Linked DNA regions of Homo sapiens: regions 1, 3, 4, 5 and 6 are each linked to region 2. The links are contacts of gene promoters, found by promoter capture Hi-C in blood cells and fetal thymus (Javierre and others, 2016). All regions are on one chromosome and are shown on one strand. The core of a region is centred on a gene start or on the middle of the fragment in contact, and the rest is flanking DNA. Distances in the headings are between cores, read along the strand shown.

Region 1 (2,700 bases), core at 145-2,644, 100 kb after region 2:
TTGGTTTCCCATATTAACTGTATTACTTAGCTATTGTCTCATTGTAATATAATTATTTGTTATTATTCATGTCTCTAACCTGGGCTGTGAGATTCTTGAGGGTGGAGAGAGTGCTGTAGACAATTTTACATTCTATGCCTTCTCAGTGTGCTACATAGTTCATTGAACTATTCACTGAGCATTTATTGTTTGAGGGATAAGAAACTAGGACTTGAGAGTATGAGAATGATACCTTAAACAATAGAACAGAATCTTCCCAGTGAATTTTATATGCATAATTTCTTGAAATTTCTAGCCATCAATTCCAATCATCTATCTAATATAGACAACCCCTGACTTATGATGGATCTACTTACAATTTTTTGATTTTAGGCTGGTGTGAAAGCAATACCCATTAAATAATACACTGCTCAACTTATGAGGTTATGTCCAGAGAAATACATTGCAAATTGAAAATGTCATAAGTCATGTGTGTTTTCACTTACAGTATTTTCAATTTATGATATGTTTATTGAGACATAAACCTGTCATAAGTCAAGGAGCATCTGTCCATGATTCTCTTCTGCAAAATCCACTCATTTAACAGGCATTTCTTGAGTGCCTTTTATGAATAAGTATCATGCTAAGATGTGGTCAACACAAAGAAGGCTAGTGTCTATTTCTGATATGAGCAAGTGTGTTCAGGGGTTTAGTGTAAGTGCAGGGGACTCAAATAAGAACACGCATTGTGACAGAAACCATGGAACAGGAAGACTCAAGGATTATGAGAGCACAGAGAAAAACACCAAACCCAGTGTGGTAGGGCGACAGCAAATGTCTTGGAGGTGGTGATAGTGATAGTGCCTTCCAAGTGAAGAAGAGACAGGCACCTACATTTCCAGAAAACAAAAAGATTATTGACTTTTCTGAGCTATGACGTAGCTTGATTTTGCCAAATAGGTAAACAAGAGACAGAAGATGAAGGGCATTTTTTGCCATGCTAAGAACCTTTGGCTTTATCCTAAAAGATGAGGATAAACTCCCCAGTTGTGAAGGATTTTAGACAAGGCAGTAACATGTCTTTTAAAAAATCACTCTGGGAGTGAGAAGCAGGGAGACAAGAGAGCTGTTCAGTCATCTATCTAGGTGAGAGATAATGGAATTCTAGCTAGAGATCTCTACAGTGGAGAATGAACATTAGGGGATGTGAGAAAAGTTAGTGGGGAAGAATTAAACAGCAAAGTGACTAATTGAACATAAAGATAAAGATAAAAAAGCGGGAAGGGTTAAGTTTGGTTCCCAGACTGGTAGAATGACAGAGCCATTCATATAGATATGGAATATGAGAGACAAAGGCCAGAGGGGTAAGAGAATGACTTCGTATTTGGAAACTATTGAGATTGTAGCACTGGTATGCTAGTGGAGTTATCCCATAGAATCTATTCAAAATTCAGAGAGGAAAAAAAAGAACTCTGAGTTGGAGATAAAGTACAGGAAATCAACACATGAATGTTAAGTGAAAGAGGAGGAGGAAAGGACTAAGGACAGGTCCCTGAGGAAAATCCATGCAAGGCATAAGATGACATGCTGATGAAGTACCCAGGTGTCCATCTTCAAAGTGAAAGAATCATGAAACCATAATGCTCCTAGATACACAGATATCGGTGTAGCCTTCAGGGGTATGCTAAGGCCATTGGAAGCAGGATTGCCTATGTGTGAGCCATATGCTCATCATCAGACCAATGGCTTCTCAGTAGCCAGAGTAGGCTCTAGCTTTAATGAATGAAGAACATAATTTTGTTTCTAATATAAAGTCATGGCTGGGTGCAGTGGCTCACACCAGTAATCCCAGCACTTTGGGAGGCTGAGGTGGGTGGATCACCTGAGGTCAGAAGTTCGAGACCAGCCTGGCCAACATGGTGAAACCCCCGTCTCTACTAAAAATACAAAAACTAGCCAGGTGTGGGGGCGGGCACCTGTAATCCCAGCTGCTTAGGAGGCTGAGGCAGAAGAATTGCTTGAACTCAGGAGGTGGCTGTTGTAGCGAGCTGAGATCATGCCATTGCACTCTAGCCTGGGTGAAAGAGTGAGACTCCATCTCAAAATAAGTAAATAAATAAAAATAAAAACAAAGTTAGAGAGATTAAATGTAGTTGAGGGATGGCATGAACATAGATATGCATAGCAATCATTATCCCTCGCAGCAAACTATTCTTAAATATTTTCCAAAATGTACTAGTATTTATATATTTGATTTTATCTAACCTCAGGTATGTATGTTTTCAGATTTTCATTTTGGGGGGAACACTGCTATACCGGGTGAAACTCATTAATAATACACAAGTCCAAGCACTTCAATTGTATTGAGGTTTCATTATGTTTCCTAAAAGAGAGGGAAAGAATGCATAAGCCAGATAATTGAATGAAGCCTTTGCTAGAGACTTATTTTGCAGCCATCTTCAACAATTCTTTGGTCCTCGTGGATGGGAATGTTTATCTATGTATTTGTGTAATATGTGGTCCCACAGAGTCCAAGCACCTGAAAAATCTAATTAGCCTGGTCTTGATTGACTGTGCATAGGATAATGCCATAGTCCTCAGTCTGCTCTTCGTCTCCTACAGCGTGCTTACTGATATGAAAATGAAGACACAGCAAGAGTTTCCATGAGCAGCTGCCAGACGGGCTTCTTGTGCTATCTTGTCCGTACAGAAAAATTGCCC
Region 2 (2,722 bases), core at 97-2,596:
TTTTAAACATCAGTTTACTATGCTGATTAAGTCAACATTTATATTTTCATCAGAACTTAATAATCCCATAAATAAATAGAGCTCTCAGTTATTTAAAAAAATCAAGGGATAACATATGTATTTAGACATATTAGCAGCGTAAAGATGTATGCTTCAACACACTTATTGGGGAAACGTCTGAAAATATTACTACACTGAATTCAAGGGTATCCAAAGGAACCTGACATAGAAGTTCTCTAGAATAACATCATTTCAGGGAATTTCAAAAAAGAAAAGGGGTCAAATAGGAAATAGCCTCAAATTAATTGACAAAGTTCAGTGTTTGCCCCAACTAGATTATTCTCTCTCTCCACTGCAAAAAGAAAGTCTCAGGATGAGTGAATCACTTAGACGAAAGTTCATCTAGTGGAATAAATGGAGAAGCCGCTTGGGCAGGTGACACAGGAGAGTCGGTGGTAGTGCTGACTTTCGCTGGTGAGTTACAAGAAGATCCGGCACTGCTGCTGTTTCCATCAAGGGTATCCGAAGATACACACACACCAGGATCTGACAGCTGTGCAACGTCAGAAGAAAGCATGTTGGTGATGCCCTGGAAAAATCTCTTTGGCTGATATTCAGTTTCCATTTCACATTTTCTTTTCAATGGTCCAAGAACACTTGGTCTAATGCAATTGATGGGGCTCTGGCTTCTCCGGGTGGTAAATCGGGTCGTTGGGCTGGGAATAGGGCTTGGAGGCAATCCGTTGCTACTTACAAAACTTTGCAAGGATGGCGAAAAACACTGCTTCCCAATTCCCCGAGTGGGTGACGGTGCTGGTGACACAGGAATGAAATCGATGCGCTTGGGGGAGGCGGATTTCTCCACGTCGTTGTCACTCAGGCTGAAACTTTCCTCCCAGGAGTGGCTTATCTGCATTGCGGTCTGCACCTCCCGTTCGTGGACCGTCTCTCGGTTGATCAAGTCCATGCCCTCTTCTTGTTTGATCTGGTGCAAGCGGCTGCTGTGCATGCGGACAGGGGAGGCCGGCAGCAGCAGGCCGTGGCGGCTCGGGAACGTTGTGCTGTTCCGCCTGGCGCTCGGCGCCTCGGCCTGGAACACCGGCGAAGTGTCACTGAGGCCGTGGATCAGGGGGGCGCTGTTAGACCTCCTGAGGCCCCCGCCGCCGCCGCTGCCACCGCCCTCCGCCGGGCTCCCGCCCGTACCCGGAGGCAGCTCCAGGTCTAGCTCCATCTTCTCCTGAGCCATGTCGGGGGCAGGGAGGCGGGGGAGGTGCTCAGTCAGGGACCTAGGATTCCCATTCCCCGCAGTCCAGGGCCGCCGCCGCTGCCGCCGCCACCGAGAATCTGTCAGCGGGCTGGCCCCTCTGCGCATGCGTAGCCCTTCGCGCAGGCGCTCGCGATGTCCGTACTCGCGGCGCCTGCTTAATGCGTAATATGTGCGCGGCAGTGGTAGGGGAGGGGCGAGGAGTGGTCGGGCCGCTAGTCCGTATATTCCTTCGGCAAATAGCTATTGAGCGCAAGCTCGCGTTGACGCATGTCAATAAGATTGTCATATTCTGGATTGCATACTCATAAAACAAAGCCCTGAAAGAGAGGCCCATGGTGATGTGGGGCTGTATGACGTGGAGTGGCGCTTGGCCTAATCAGGGAGGGCTTCCTCGAGGAAGGAACAATCTCCTGAAATCTGAAGAAGTGGGCGAAATGGGTGCGATGTAGAACTTTGCAGGAAGCGGGAAGCAACGGCTACCCAGCCAGTTGGCAGGCGGGAACCAGGAGGGGAGGAGAAAGTGTGGCCTGGAGTGGAGAGTGAGGGCTGGCCTGACGTGAGGTGGTGGACCAGACCACATTCTGGTCTTTATCTTGAGAACAATGAAAACTTAAAGGGTTTTCAAGCATGGGTGTAACAGCAACTGAAAAGCTCACTGGCCTGCAGTCTGGAGAATACATATTGGGAGATTAAAACCTTACAGAAAAAAGGCCAGAGAGGATGGTCATTTGCACTAAGGTGACAGTGTGGCAGTGGAGATGGAGAGAAAAGTAAATCTGAGAACTATTTAGGTTAGGGGAAGAAGCCAAAACAGAGGATGGTATTGCTATTGATTTACAGTCATAGTTCCAGCACAAGCATATGTGTGAAGTATGAAGGATTAAACCAGTAGGTCCTCACATTTTAAAAATGAAACCACAATTCTTGGCTCATGTAATTAATATAAAACCTTGATATCTCATTAAAAGTGAGTTTATTTGTTCATTTATTCAGTCAGTCAAGGTTTTTTTTTTTCAGCATACTTACTATGTGCCAAACACTGCTAGGAAATGGGCCCTAGTATGAACTTTTAATTCTTACTGAGGGGAAAATAGAGAAACGCAGGCTATTTTCAGATAGTGGTAAGCCTTAGGAAAAGTAAGATGGTGTGATGGAGCACTACTGATAGAAGTCAGGGGACAATTAGAGTTGAGATCTAAATGACAAGAAGCAGTAAGTCACGTGGACATCTGGGGAATGAGTATTCCAAGCAGAGAGAATAGCAAGTGCTAAGGCCGGAGGCAGCCATGAGTTTGATGAGTTAGCAGAAAAAGAAAAAAGGGCAGTGCCGCTGAAGCATAAGAGCGGGAGTGTTAGGAGAGGGTAAGAGTTGGATCTCATTCTGAATATGATGAAACGCCACTGGAGGGTTTTAAGCAGGGGACTGATATTATCTGGTTTATGTTTTAAATATCA
Region 3 (2,700 bases), core at 48-2,547, 110 kb before region 2:
CAAATGAGACTTGCTCTCACTTTCAAAGAAATTGGCTTTGTCAAGCTATGTGAAAAATCCTATTAGAATTTTTGCTTGGAATTAGACTGGATTTATAAGTTGATTTGGGAGCAGTTGAAATCTTTACAATACTGAGTTCAGGAACAATGCAGATTTCTTCATTATTTCAGATCTTCTTTATGTCCTTCAATAACGTTTTGTAGTTTCCTTCATATTGGTCTTGTAACATTTGTTTTTATAGATTCAAGTATTTTAGAATTTTTCTTATTACATTCTTTCTGAACTGATTGTTTATGTTTTCCACTTACTATATCTTGCTTTCCCAATCAGAATTACAGTACTCACATGACTTTATTTACTTATTTTTCTAATAGGGTTCATTATAAGTTGTTGTCATCATGAACAGGATCTCTTTTTTCCCTTATATTCTCCCACTCTATATCATCTATATAATGGAATATAATGGATTTTGTAGATTTACCTTTTATCCTGCAAATCTGCTGGAGTCATATCACTTCTAAAAATTCCTGATTTACTTTCATGAGCAAAATGAAGGTTTGCTCATTTTGAATTCTGTCATTTAAAGAGAACAGTGCTTGTACTTTTTTCTATTTCTTTTTGTACTCAAGACTCAGTGCCAGAATTTCTAGCAAATTTATCAGAAAGGACTATTGATGGGAGGGGCACTCTGGTCTATTCCTATTGTTTCTAGAGAAAGGATTCTTGTATTTTTCCATGAGCTATCATGTGAACTTTTGGAAGACTGATAAATGTACAACTTGTATAATCATTGATTTATTTATCATTTTTTAAAAAAAAAAAAACTCCCCTGCCAATTTTTAGAATTTTAATTAAGTGAAGATGTTGAATTTTGAGGGCCTTAGCTTCTCCTCAACATCTATTTGGGTAACCACGTGACGTTCACATTTTTTCTTGTTAATGGGGTGGATTATATTGTTATACTAGCTTACATAATTGGGATAAAATCACTTGTTCAGCTAAATTTAATTTTTCTTTGATACAGGGTTTTGCTCTGTCTCCCAGGCTGGAGTACAGTGGCTTGATCATAGTTCACTGCAGCCTCAACCTTCCAGGCTCAAGTGATCCTCCCACTTCTCAGCCTCCCAAGTAGCTGGGACCACAGGTGCGTGCCACCATGCCTGGATAATTTTTTATTTTTTTGTAGAGATGGGGTTTCACCATGTTGCCCAGGCTGGACTTGAACACCTGGGCTCAAGTGATCCACCCACCTTGGCCTCCCAAAGTGCTGGGATTACAGGTGTGAGCCACCATTCCTGGCCCTTAACTTTTTATCTAATTTTAATTAAATATAAGTAGTCAAATATGGCCAATGCAGTTTTACAAGAGGACAAGTATATCTGAGCTCAGAACTATGGAATTTTAAGATTTACTAATTAAGCAGGTTATCAAATAATATTATATCAATTTGATCCTAATTTTAGATAATTTTAAAATGTGTGCATGAACAAAGAATAACTGAAAGCATATACACCATATTTTAGTAATATGTATCTCTGGGAAAGAAACTATAGTTAGTTTTTTTTTTTTTGGCTTTTCTATATTTTCTGTTCCTCCAAAAAAAAATAATTGCTCAGTATTGAAATATTTTAAAATCTGCCTGCATGCCACTAAGATTTTTATTGAGATTTTTTATTTTTATACTTCTATATGAGATTAATTTAAGTATTTAATGCTGTGTCTAGCAGATTTTGGAATTAAAATAATATTTTTACATAAAAAGATAACATGGCATCTGATGAATGCATTTTTAAAAACAAAGATGATATTTATCACCACTCATAGCAAGTGATTGGCAGAACTTGGGCTTCTGAAATCCAGACAGCTTCATGTAGCCCTTCCAATCATAGAAAATTAAGAACTGTTATCAAAGTACAATGAAACTGGAGGTATGAAAATGCCTGGACTATTTAGGAACAGTGGGGATAGTTTTGAAAATTTTGGAGTAAACGTGTAGTAAATCCGTCTAGGCTAAGTTACTGTTCCTTTGTCTCTAAAATATTACATGAAAGGTGATTTTTCACACTATCACATTTACCCATGAAATTCTAAATTCTGAAGTCTAGTAGCTGAGAACAGCTAATATAGAATATGTTCCGGTGTATTAGTGTAGGGGTTAAAAATGCATTCTCTGGAGCCCTTTTGCTTGCGTAGCCCCAGCTCTGCAGCTCTCCAGCTGAATCACCCATGGCAAGTTACTTAATTTATCTTTGCCTCAATTACCTCTTCTATAAAAAGGTGATAATTGTAGTATCCAAGGTTGCTGTGAGGATTAAATGAGTTAATGAATGCAAAGCACTTAAGGCCTTGCTTAACATGTAGTAAGCAATCCATGAAAGTTAACCATTTATACTATTACTGCGTACTGGCTGCAAAGAGCTTTGAAACACATTGCTTCCTTTATCTTTCCTTTATTTTATATCCTGTATCCTTACTTTATCACAACAACTATGTAAGATAAGTATTTCCCAGCTTTTTTTTTTTTTTTTTTTTGAGAAGGAGTCTCGCTCTGTCGCCCAGGCTGGAGTGCAGTGGCGGGATCTCGATTCACTGCAAGCTCCGCCTCCCGGGTTCATGCCATTCTCCTGCCTCAGCCTCCTGAGTAGCTAGGACTACAGGCGCCCACCACCACGCCTGGCTAATTTTTTTGTATTTTTAGTA
Region 4 (2,700 bases), core at 84-2,583, 91 kb before region 2:
TTGGTTCTCTGAGGCCCCACGCTGGCACATTTACTGTGTGTAGATGTGGGTGCCAGCCCACAGGCGTTCAGCACAGAATCTCCACAGCACAGGTACCAAGTGCTTAGCAACTTCCACCATGGCAGAACTGCCAACATTCAAACACAATGACCGCAATCAACGTTTGCCTCCTGAAGTCCACAGGCTTTCCTTGCTTGAGACTGGAGTTACCTGTTGAGTAACTGTGCTCAGCATCCAGACTTAGCAAAAATGAAGTCAGAAAAAGAGTAGAACTCCTCACAGTTTAAGATTTACCTTATATTTCTTCAATGCACTTATGTAGGGTGTGGAAAAAAAAAAAAAACACCCGACAACTGACTTTCTTGTCTTGGCGTAAGTTGAAGCTTTGGAAATCTCAGCTATGGGGTTTTGAGCAGTGGTTCTAGATGCTTGGATCCCATGGGCCAGTAAAATTTCGACAACAAAAGTTTGGAATCCAACCTTGGATTTCCAAATTTATTTTGCCAAGTAAGAACCTAAACAATTAAGCAAGCACACGTTACAATCCCTATCACATCAGGGCATTTTTAGCTCCAAAAAAGGAGAAAGAAATTTCAAATAAAGAACAGAAGTTTCTCTGTCCTCTTCCCCACTTATTCACTAAGAAGCAGTTAAAGTTCAATCACAGACCAGCTCTGGCATTCTGATATTCACCTCTTCTGAGGCAAGTTCATTTTTAAGGCCAAAGCTACTGCTTGTCTTAGTCTAAAAATACATATATCTTAATGGCAACGTATGTTCAGAATTACACAATGTTGAAGCTTGAGGAAGCATTAGCCGCCATCTGGAATTCCCCATTTAGCAGATAAATCATAGTCCAGGGAGGGAAAACAATGGCCCAAACTGATCAGGAACAAACAAGATTGGGAGATTAGACTCACATCAGAACAGCAGAAAAGTCATAAGCAGATAGGAATGGCTTAACTTAGACTTGACGTTCCTCTGTTATTCCTCCTTTTCAGGATTCTGTTACAAGTTTCAGGGGTTTCTCCCTGCCCAAATATCCCAATTACTTCCACATGAGGCCTTCACACCACAGGGGCTGGTGGGTAGAATTTCACTTACAGAAGCTTTGGTCAGTTGGTGTTCTCCTCTCTATGTACTAATAACAACACAGCTTTGTTTATGGGGTTTTAGAGCCTGATGACCAAGTGCTAGTTTTGGTGGCACTGGACTGAGAGATGTGGTGGTAAGCAATGGGGTAAAACTAATTTAGCATCTCAAAGACAACACAAGGGGACCAGTTTTGGAGCTGAGACTCAGAGCTTTCTTGCCTCTAGAGCAGCATTTTCCATTTAGTGAGCTTTGTTTATTTCAAATTGTAACCAAACCATCAATAGTGGCTCTGAGGACTTTTGACAAAACTAGTACTTACGCAACTCCTGGGTGATAGTGGTCAGTGTCGCTAAAGGATGCTAAATGCCCTCACTTGTATTCAACAAACATGACCTTACCCTCTGTATGACAGGATAAATGAAGGGTGCTTTGTCTTGATGTGCAGACATTAGGAAAGCTTAAGTGGCACTACAGTTGGGTGAATGCCACTACAATCCAGTAACAAACTACTGATGGTACCCAGTCTTCAAGTTGGACCTTCGTACACAGCAGTCTGTAAAAGCGGCCTTAAGGTATTATTAATTGCCTCTGCCAATTCAGCCAAGGTGGATATCCCTTGGTTTCCACATACAATTCTTTACGTAACTAGAGAGAGAGAGACAGAAATTGGTCCTCTTTTTTGCCAAATTAGAGAGTGCTCATGAATGGAAAAACAAAACAAAGCAAAACAAAAGACACATTCCTTGCTGGTGCCAACCTCCTGTTGCTGAGCAGTTCTGTGATGGGTACACATGAACTGCATTGTATAAGACGAGGCTGCACCATCTTCAGAGACCAACCAGCTGACAGCCAATCTGTAAAAGTCAGCATCTGAAGACAGCTTAAATTCCCCAACCAAACAGTGCATTCCGGGATGTCATTTACTGGGAACATGTGACATCATCGGTTATATAAACATTAAACCATCCAAGAAGTTATTACCATACTGGAAAACCGTGCTTGAAGATAACTTCAAATAAAGTAGAATATTGTATAATATCCAGTGCATGCAATAAATCCTTTGAGCTAAAGGAAGAGGTATATGGCTTTTAGTAATAGGAAATCAGTTTCTCCCCATCCTCACCAAATACACGCTGAACAAAGACATAAAGAGTTTTGATTTGAAGGAGCATCATATTATGGCTTGCCCAGCAGCAGTCACTTCTCATTTTCTCCCAAGAAGACTAAGCTGGCAGCTTTGTCTTCTACCCACATGTACATAAAAACTGGTGCAGAATGTTTGTATAGATCAGGAGTTGGTAATCTTTTTCTTTTTTATTTATTTTTATTTTTATTAAATATAAAGAGATGAGGTCTCACTATATTGCCCAGGCTGCTTTCAAACTCTTGAGCTCATGTGATCTTCCCACCTCGGCCTCCCAAAGTGCTGGGATTACGGGCGTGAGCCACTGCAGCCAGCCTTGGCAATCTTTTTCTATAAAGGGCCAGATAATATTTCGAGCTCTGTGGGCCATACAGTCTCTGTAGCAATTACTCAACTCTGCAGCCATTGTAGATAGCAGCCGCAGACAATTTGTAAATGAATGGATGTGGCTTTATTCCAAT
Region 5 (2,861 bases), core at 84-2,583, 83 kb after region 2:
TTAACGTTAGTCAACCAGTGAAGTCCACGCTCAGACGCTCAAGCCCTCTGTGACACTGTGCCATGTGAATACACTGGGAAGACACATTGATTTTCACTTTTATTTCTCAAAACATTTAGTGACTCTCCTGACTTGGAACCATTTAGGTGGAACCTTACTAGCAAGACTGTCTCCTCCTGACAATATTTGAATTTGAATGTTTTGCTAGCAAAATGGAGCTTCCTGTTCTGACACCCCTTATAAGATGTTGTCAGCAAGCTGTCACAGCAACCTAAAATATTTGGCTGGGATGGGAGAAAAGCAAAAGGAGCTGTGTTAATCAGGGTATGCAAACGGATTTCACATACAACCCGCAAGCCTCAGTGGATTAGTATAATAAAGATTCATTTCTTGTTCATGTCAACATTCAGTGTGATTTGGTGGTGGGGCTGGTTTTGTGCAATCAGCCAGAGACCCTGGCTCCTCCTGTCTCATGGCGCCATTATCTTCAACAAGTGGCCTCTGAAATCCTTCCTGAACTGCAAGACAGAATGAAAGATTTAGAATGCCAGGTGGAGGAGTGGCAATCATCACGTCCACTCACATTCCACTGGCCAGAAATTGATCCCACAGCCCCACCTACTTGCAAGGGGTCTGGAAAACTCCATGTAAGCGCTGTGCCTGGGAAGAAGAGAAGAGCCTGGACACTGGGGAGCACTATATTCTCAGCCCCATGCACTGAATTAAACACGAGCCATTCATCTTACATTTAATCTTGCACAGCTATGACTGGAGGCTTATGAGGGAGAGTCTTTAGTAGTCAGGATTCTTCTTCTGTGCTATATCCTGGTATTTCCCCCGGATTTTCACATTGGAAGCAGCCTGTTGTATGTGTGTGGTTTTGGATGGTACTGCTGTCTTGAAGTGTTTGTGGACATACATGGGAGCTTAAAGAGTCAGCAGCCTATATTGGTACAGAAAATTGAACATTTAAAGCAAGTGTAAAAGAAGTATTCTTCTGGAGCTCTTGCCAGGATGAGAGACTATTTAATTTCATTACCATAGGAGAAAATGGAATCTGTGCAATCAGCTTTTAAAGTTGTTGCAACCAGAAACTTTGGAGCCTTTGGGATAGGAAAAAAAGTGAAGAGAAACATAACTCATCCCTCTACCTGCAGTCAGCTTGTCCTGATGGCATGGGTGATTTCAGGAATAATAATTGTAATGAGGGAAAGAGAAACAGGATGGGGAAAGCAAGAGGAATACAGCTTTTTATAGCACATATTTTAAGGAAAAATATGGGAGTTGGCAGTGCTTTGGAGATTACAAATAATTTAACCCAAAAGGCAAAGCTATTCTGTGAAGATACAAGTTAGAAAGTATTGGAGAGTTGCCCAGCATCTTCATACTACTTAAAACTGTCTGTCTTTTCCAGTGTGAAGCAGGCAGAGAACATCAGACTACAGCAAAGGACTAGGCGATGACCTCTTAAAAGTCTGCTGTGTCCTAGGTTTGTGTTGCCCATAGGTTGGGAACAGTAGGTGTTGCATGTTTGTGTAGTTTTTTCTTAATTTTGGAGTAATGAATGTATGAAAGAAGCCCTTCTTTGTGACCATTCTGCATGCCAAGCGATATGGTGGCATTTCCTCTACAGACTTTCAGATGAAAAAATTAAATAAGAGGTTTATTTAATATGCAAGAGTTTGTCTGTGATATCCTGATAAGAATAAAAGGCATAAATTGAACATGTACATATACTACAACCTCAAAAAAGTACGCAAAGTTGAGAAAAGTCCTGAAAAGAAATCTTCCGAAATGTTAGCTATTGTTGCCTCTAGGTTAATATTGTATCTTCTTTAACAAAACTTTCTTGTGCTAATTTTTCAAATCAGAAAAAGATAAAGAAATTGAGGAAAAATGTAAATATTTGAAGATGACAAAAAATTATGTTTGTTTTTAAAACTTAGGAAAATTTAGAAAAACAAAAAAGAAATCACTCTTCATTTTCTTCACCCAGAGACTGCCAGGTCCAACATTTGTTATTTGCTTACCATGCTGTCAAATATCTTACAGTTTTTCTAGATTAAAATAATGTTCACAGGGCAAAGGATCTAAATAGACATTTCTCAAAGAAGATATACAAATGACCAATAAGCATTTGAAAATATACTCAACTTTATTAGTCATTAGGGAAATGCAAATTAAAACTACAAAGACATCTACTATACAACACTTTATATCTACTAGGATGGCTAGAATCAGAAAGAGAGATAATAATAAGTGTTGGTGAAGAGGCAGAAAAATTGGAACTCTCCTCCATTGCTGGTGAGAATTGAAAAAGAAGCAACCACTTTTGAAAAAATTCTGGCAGTTCCTCAACAGTTTAAATGTAGAGTTAAGATACAACCCAGCAATTCCACTCCTACATATCTATCCAAGAGAAATGAAAACATACATCTACACAAAAACTTGTACACAAATGTTCATAGCAGCATTGTTCACAATAGCCAAAAAGTGGAAACAACTTAAATATCCATTAACTGATAAGTGGATAAAGAAAATGTTGTATATTCATACAATGAGATATTATCCAGCAATAAAAAGGAATGAAGTATCAGTACATGCTACAATGTGGATGAACCTTGAAAATGTTATGCTAACTGAAATAAACCAGACACAAAAGGCTACATGTTGTTTAATTACATTTATAGAAAATATCCAGTATAGACAAATCTGCAGAGACAGAAAGAGGTTGCCTCTGGCTGGGGAGAGGGGGCATAATAGGAAAATGAGGAGTGACTGCTAACGGGTACAGGATTGGGGGTAGGGAAGGTGATAAAAATGTTCTAAAGTTAATGACGAATGCATAACTTTGTGAATAT
Region 6 (3,001 bases), core at 293-2,792, 65 kb after region 2:
TCCCAGTATCTACTGTTCCCAATTTTATGTCCATGTGTACCCAATGGTTAGCTCACACTTATAAGTGAGAACACGCGGTATTTGGTTGCTTCTGTGTTAATTTGCTTAGGATAACGGCCTCCAGGTGCATCCATTATGCTACAGAACATGATTTTGTTCTTTCTTATGGCTGCATAATATTCCATGGTGTATATATACCACATTTTCTTCATCCAATCCATCATTGATGGTCACCTAGGTTGATTCCTTGTCTTTGCTATTATGAATAGCGCTGCAATGAACGTGTGAGTGCAGGTGTCTTTCTGATAAAACAATTTATTTTCCTTTGGGTATATATCCAGTAATGGGATTGCTGGGTTGAATGATAATTCTATTTTCAGTTCTTTGAGAAATCTCCAAGATTTCTCACTGTTTTCCACAGTGGCTGAACAAATTTGCAAACCAAGCAATCGTGCATAAGCGCTCCCTTTTCTCTGAACCTTGCCAGCCTATGTTATTTTTTGACTTTCTAATCATAGCCATTCTGACTGGTATGAGATGGTATCTCATTGTGGTTTTGATTTGCACTTCTCTGGTGATTAGTGATGATAAGCATTTTTTCATGTTTCTTGGGCACTTCTATGTCTTCAAGGAGAATGCTTTAGCCTCCAACTAACTTCTTCCTTAACAACTGCTTCCCTCTTAAATAATTAGGTTCTATTAGCTTTTATATTTAGAATAAATGTTATATTCTGTGATGGGAGAGATCAGACAAACCTATTTAAGTCAAGTTATATGTTATGGCATCCCTTTTAAGTTGAAGCCATATAGTTCTCCATAGATGTGCAGAGCAAGTCAGATGTAACTGGCTGTATCCTTGAAGACAGGAATTCTTTTCAGGACAACCCCCTTTCAACTGCATGTCCATATTCTTTCCTCTAAATAATCATTCCCATTCCTTCACATCTCTTGCTCTGCTTTCCTTCCTTTTACTTTTACAATTCTAATTTTTAAAATAAGTAATCCACACATATGGGTCCAAATTCAGAGGTACAAATAAATATGGGATGAAAATTCCCCTCCCATCCATGCCCCTCAGCTAGCCAATTCACCTCCCCAGAGGCAAACAAAGACACTAGTATCTCAGGTATTCTTCCAGAAATATTTTATATCATGCCTTTGGGGCAACCTTCCTTGGGGATAATACCTGCAGCTACCATTATAGAAATGCGGCTCATGACAGGTGAAATTAGGCAGTGGTAATGAAAGTTGAAGATCAAGTTCATGGACAGGATCGGCAATATGAAGTGGTTCATTCATGATCTCTGTGCATTTCCTTTCTTTAGTGGGAATTTACGAAAAGGATTTTTTTAAGGTAGAAGTATTGGTATTCATTTACTTATTCACTCAAGACAATTCTACATGTGCCGACACTATGGGGATGCAATGGGCCCTGATGATTAGCAGCTGGTGGGGGCGAGGAAACTAGTCAAATAATCATACTGTTGAAGCCCTCCTGGAGAGGGAACCACTGGTCCTGTCCTAGACTGGGGATGGGTGGCCAAGGCCTCCTTTCAAAAGTAACCTTAGAATTGACCTGAAGCGTGGTCGACCGATGCTGAGAACATTCCAAAGGGGGCAACGAGAGTGCTGCACAGAGGGTGTGAAGCTGGCAGTTGCAAGTGTGGCTCAGAAACAGCAAGGGGCAGAGTGGTGGATCTGAGACTGGAGTGGCAGCAGGACCAGGACCGTGCAGGGCTCTGGAACCATGTCAATGACCCACATCTTCACTCCAGGCACAAAGGGAGGCCATTGAAGAGTCTGGGGCAGATCCCTGTGCTTCTCTCTGTCCAGCACCCCCAGCCCCAGGCCCCACTCCTTGGTCAGGAAGTTTTTCCTGCACCCATGTCAACTGGTTCCTGTTATGAGGAAATACAGAGAGAATGATTTTGAGTCATGTTTCTTTATCTATCCTGCCAGTTATGCAAAGCAACCCAGGCCTTTTCCTCAAAGCTGCCAGGATAAGCCACAGTCAACAGTCAGAGACAGGTGCCTTTTGGGAGAGGCTTAGATTTTATTCCTAGACCACAGGTGGTGAATTTCTCTGCTATGGTGGCCACAAATGTGATATTGCAGGGTCCTGGGGGAACTCAGGGGCAGAGTATAAGCAACTGTGGAAGTAGAGCAGTCTTTGGTTCTTTGTTGGAGTGAGTGGAGTGCACCTTGGGAACTGCCGGAGAACTCTTAAGAACTTGGTATTTGCGGTAGGGTTGGGCAAGTCCCTAGAGCTACACTGGAGTTTCCATCCTGTTCCTTTAAAAGTAGTTGACTGTAGTTATGAACCTGCCTCTGACTGGACTCCAGGAGAGCAAAAACATCAGGGTAGAAAGCTACTTGGAAAAACAAGTCCTCAGAGGCTGTCCAAGAGCTCAAAAGGCCACTGAGGTGGAGAGCCCTGGGGTCAGAATTTGTGTGCTTCCGTGAGGGTTTGGCAGGGTACAGGAAGCAGAGATCTGGCCAGCAGAGCCTCAGGTGCCCTCCAACCATCACAAGTGCCCTGGTTACAATATGGGTAATGGATTCTAGGAGACCCAGAGTGGACTCAGGATACCAGAGAGGTTCTGGCTCAGTCCTGCAGAGAGACAAGAAGTTGGGCTAGGATAGAATCCGCACAAATGATGAGAAGCAGATGGAATGGGAAAGATATTCAGGAAGCAAAATCAATAGACATTGGTGATGGATTAGATGTGGTGTGTGCAGAGGGTGGAGCCAAGGATGGCTCCCAAGTTTCTGATCGTGCTACTTGGTGACTAGCGGTGCCCACCACAGAGCTGGGAACCTTGCAGGAGTATCAGATGTGGAGAAAACAGATCATGATTCTGGTTTTGAACATGTAGAATTTGAGGTGCCTTTGGGATATCCAAGCGCAATGTCAATTATGCAAACTAGAGTTCAGAGAAAGACTTAGTTTGGAGATATAAATTTTAGATTCGCTTATGTTCTCCTTTTTAAAACTCTTATT

Evidence for each region. The method cuts DNA at HindIII sites, captures the fragments that hold promoters and counts their contacts. A CHiCAGO score of 5 or more calls a contact.
Region 1: a fragment that was not itself captured here is called in contact with the fragment with the promoter of PABIR1 in region 2 in 4 of 17 cell types (naive B cells, total B cells, erythroblasts and 1 more); the score reaches 14.7 in naive B cells.
Region 3: a contact is called between a fragment that was not itself captured here and the fragment with the promoter of PABIR1 in region 2, in 7 of 17 cell types (naive CD4 T cells, non-activated CD4 T cells, naive B cells and 4 more). The highest score is 9.1, in naive CD4 T cells.
Region 4: a fragment that was not itself captured here is called in contact with the fragment with the promoter of PABIR1 in region 2 in 2 of 17 cell types (naive B cells and total B cells); the score reaches 7.9 in naive B cells.
Region 5: a contact is called between a fragment that was not itself captured here and the fragment with the promoter of PABIR1 in region 2, in 5 of 17 cell types (total B cells, erythroblasts, naive B cells and 2 more). The highest score is 9.6, in total B cells.
Region 6: a fragment that was not itself captured here is called in contact with the fragment with the promoter of PABIR1 in region 2 in 5 of 17 cell types (total B cells, erythroblasts, naive B cells and 2 more); the score reaches 10.4 in total B cells.

What each region holds. Positions count from the first base shown.
Region 1 is chr9:68,678,711-68,681,410 of GRCh38, reverse strand. No RefSeq gene overlaps it. Among named protein-coding and RNA genes, the nearest start is that of PIP5K1B, 25 kb to the left of the region's middle. The HindIII fragment of the contact is 3,399 bases long and covers 1-2,700 here.
Region 2 is chr9:68,778,689-68,781,410 of GRCh38, reverse strand. It overlaps PABIR1 (PP2A Aalpha (PPP2R1A) and B55A (PPP2R2A) interacting phosphatase regulator 1), which reads right to left and starts at 1,346. Exons shown (of 1, transcript NM_138333.5): 1 at 1-1,346. The coding sequence starts at 1,246. The coding sequence ends at 383. The region is part of intron 2 of PIP5K1B (phosphatidylinositol-4-phosphate 5-kinase type 1 beta); the gene reads right to left. RefSeq lists silencers at 1,086-1,325, 1,443-1,857 and an enhancer at 610-1,438. The HindIII fragment of the contact is 10,001 bases long and covers 1-2,722 here.
Region 3 is chr9:68,889,567-68,892,266 of GRCh38, reverse strand. All of the region lies in intron 7 of PIP5K1B (phosphatidylinositol-4-phosphate 5-kinase type 1 beta), which reads right to left. Among named protein-coding and RNA genes, the nearest start is that of PABIR1, 110 kb to the right of the region's middle. The HindIII fragment of the contact is 3,450 bases long and covers 1-2,700 here.
Region 4 is chr9:68,869,551-68,872,250 of GRCh38, reverse strand. All of the region lies in intron 5 of PIP5K1B (phosphatidylinositol-4-phosphate 5-kinase type 1 beta), which reads right to left. Among named protein-coding and RNA genes, the nearest start is that of PABIR1, 91 kb to the right of the region's middle. RefSeq lists an enhancer at 1-109. The HindIII fragment of the contact is 443 bases long and covers 1,112-1,554 here.
Region 5 is chr9:68,695,758-68,698,618 of GRCh38, reverse strand. No RefSeq gene overlaps it. Among named protein-coding and RNA genes, the nearest start is that of PIP5K1B, 8.1 kb to the left of the region's middle. The HindIII fragment of the contact is 4,000 bases long and covers 1-2,861 here.
Region 6 is chr9:68,714,075-68,717,075 of GRCh38, reverse strand. The region is part of intron 1 of PIP5K1B (phosphatidylinositol-4-phosphate 5-kinase type 1 beta); the gene reads right to left. Among named protein-coding and RNA genes, the nearest start is that of PIP5K1B, 10 kb to the right of the region's middle. The HindIII fragment of the contact is 3,615 bases long and covers 1-3,001 here.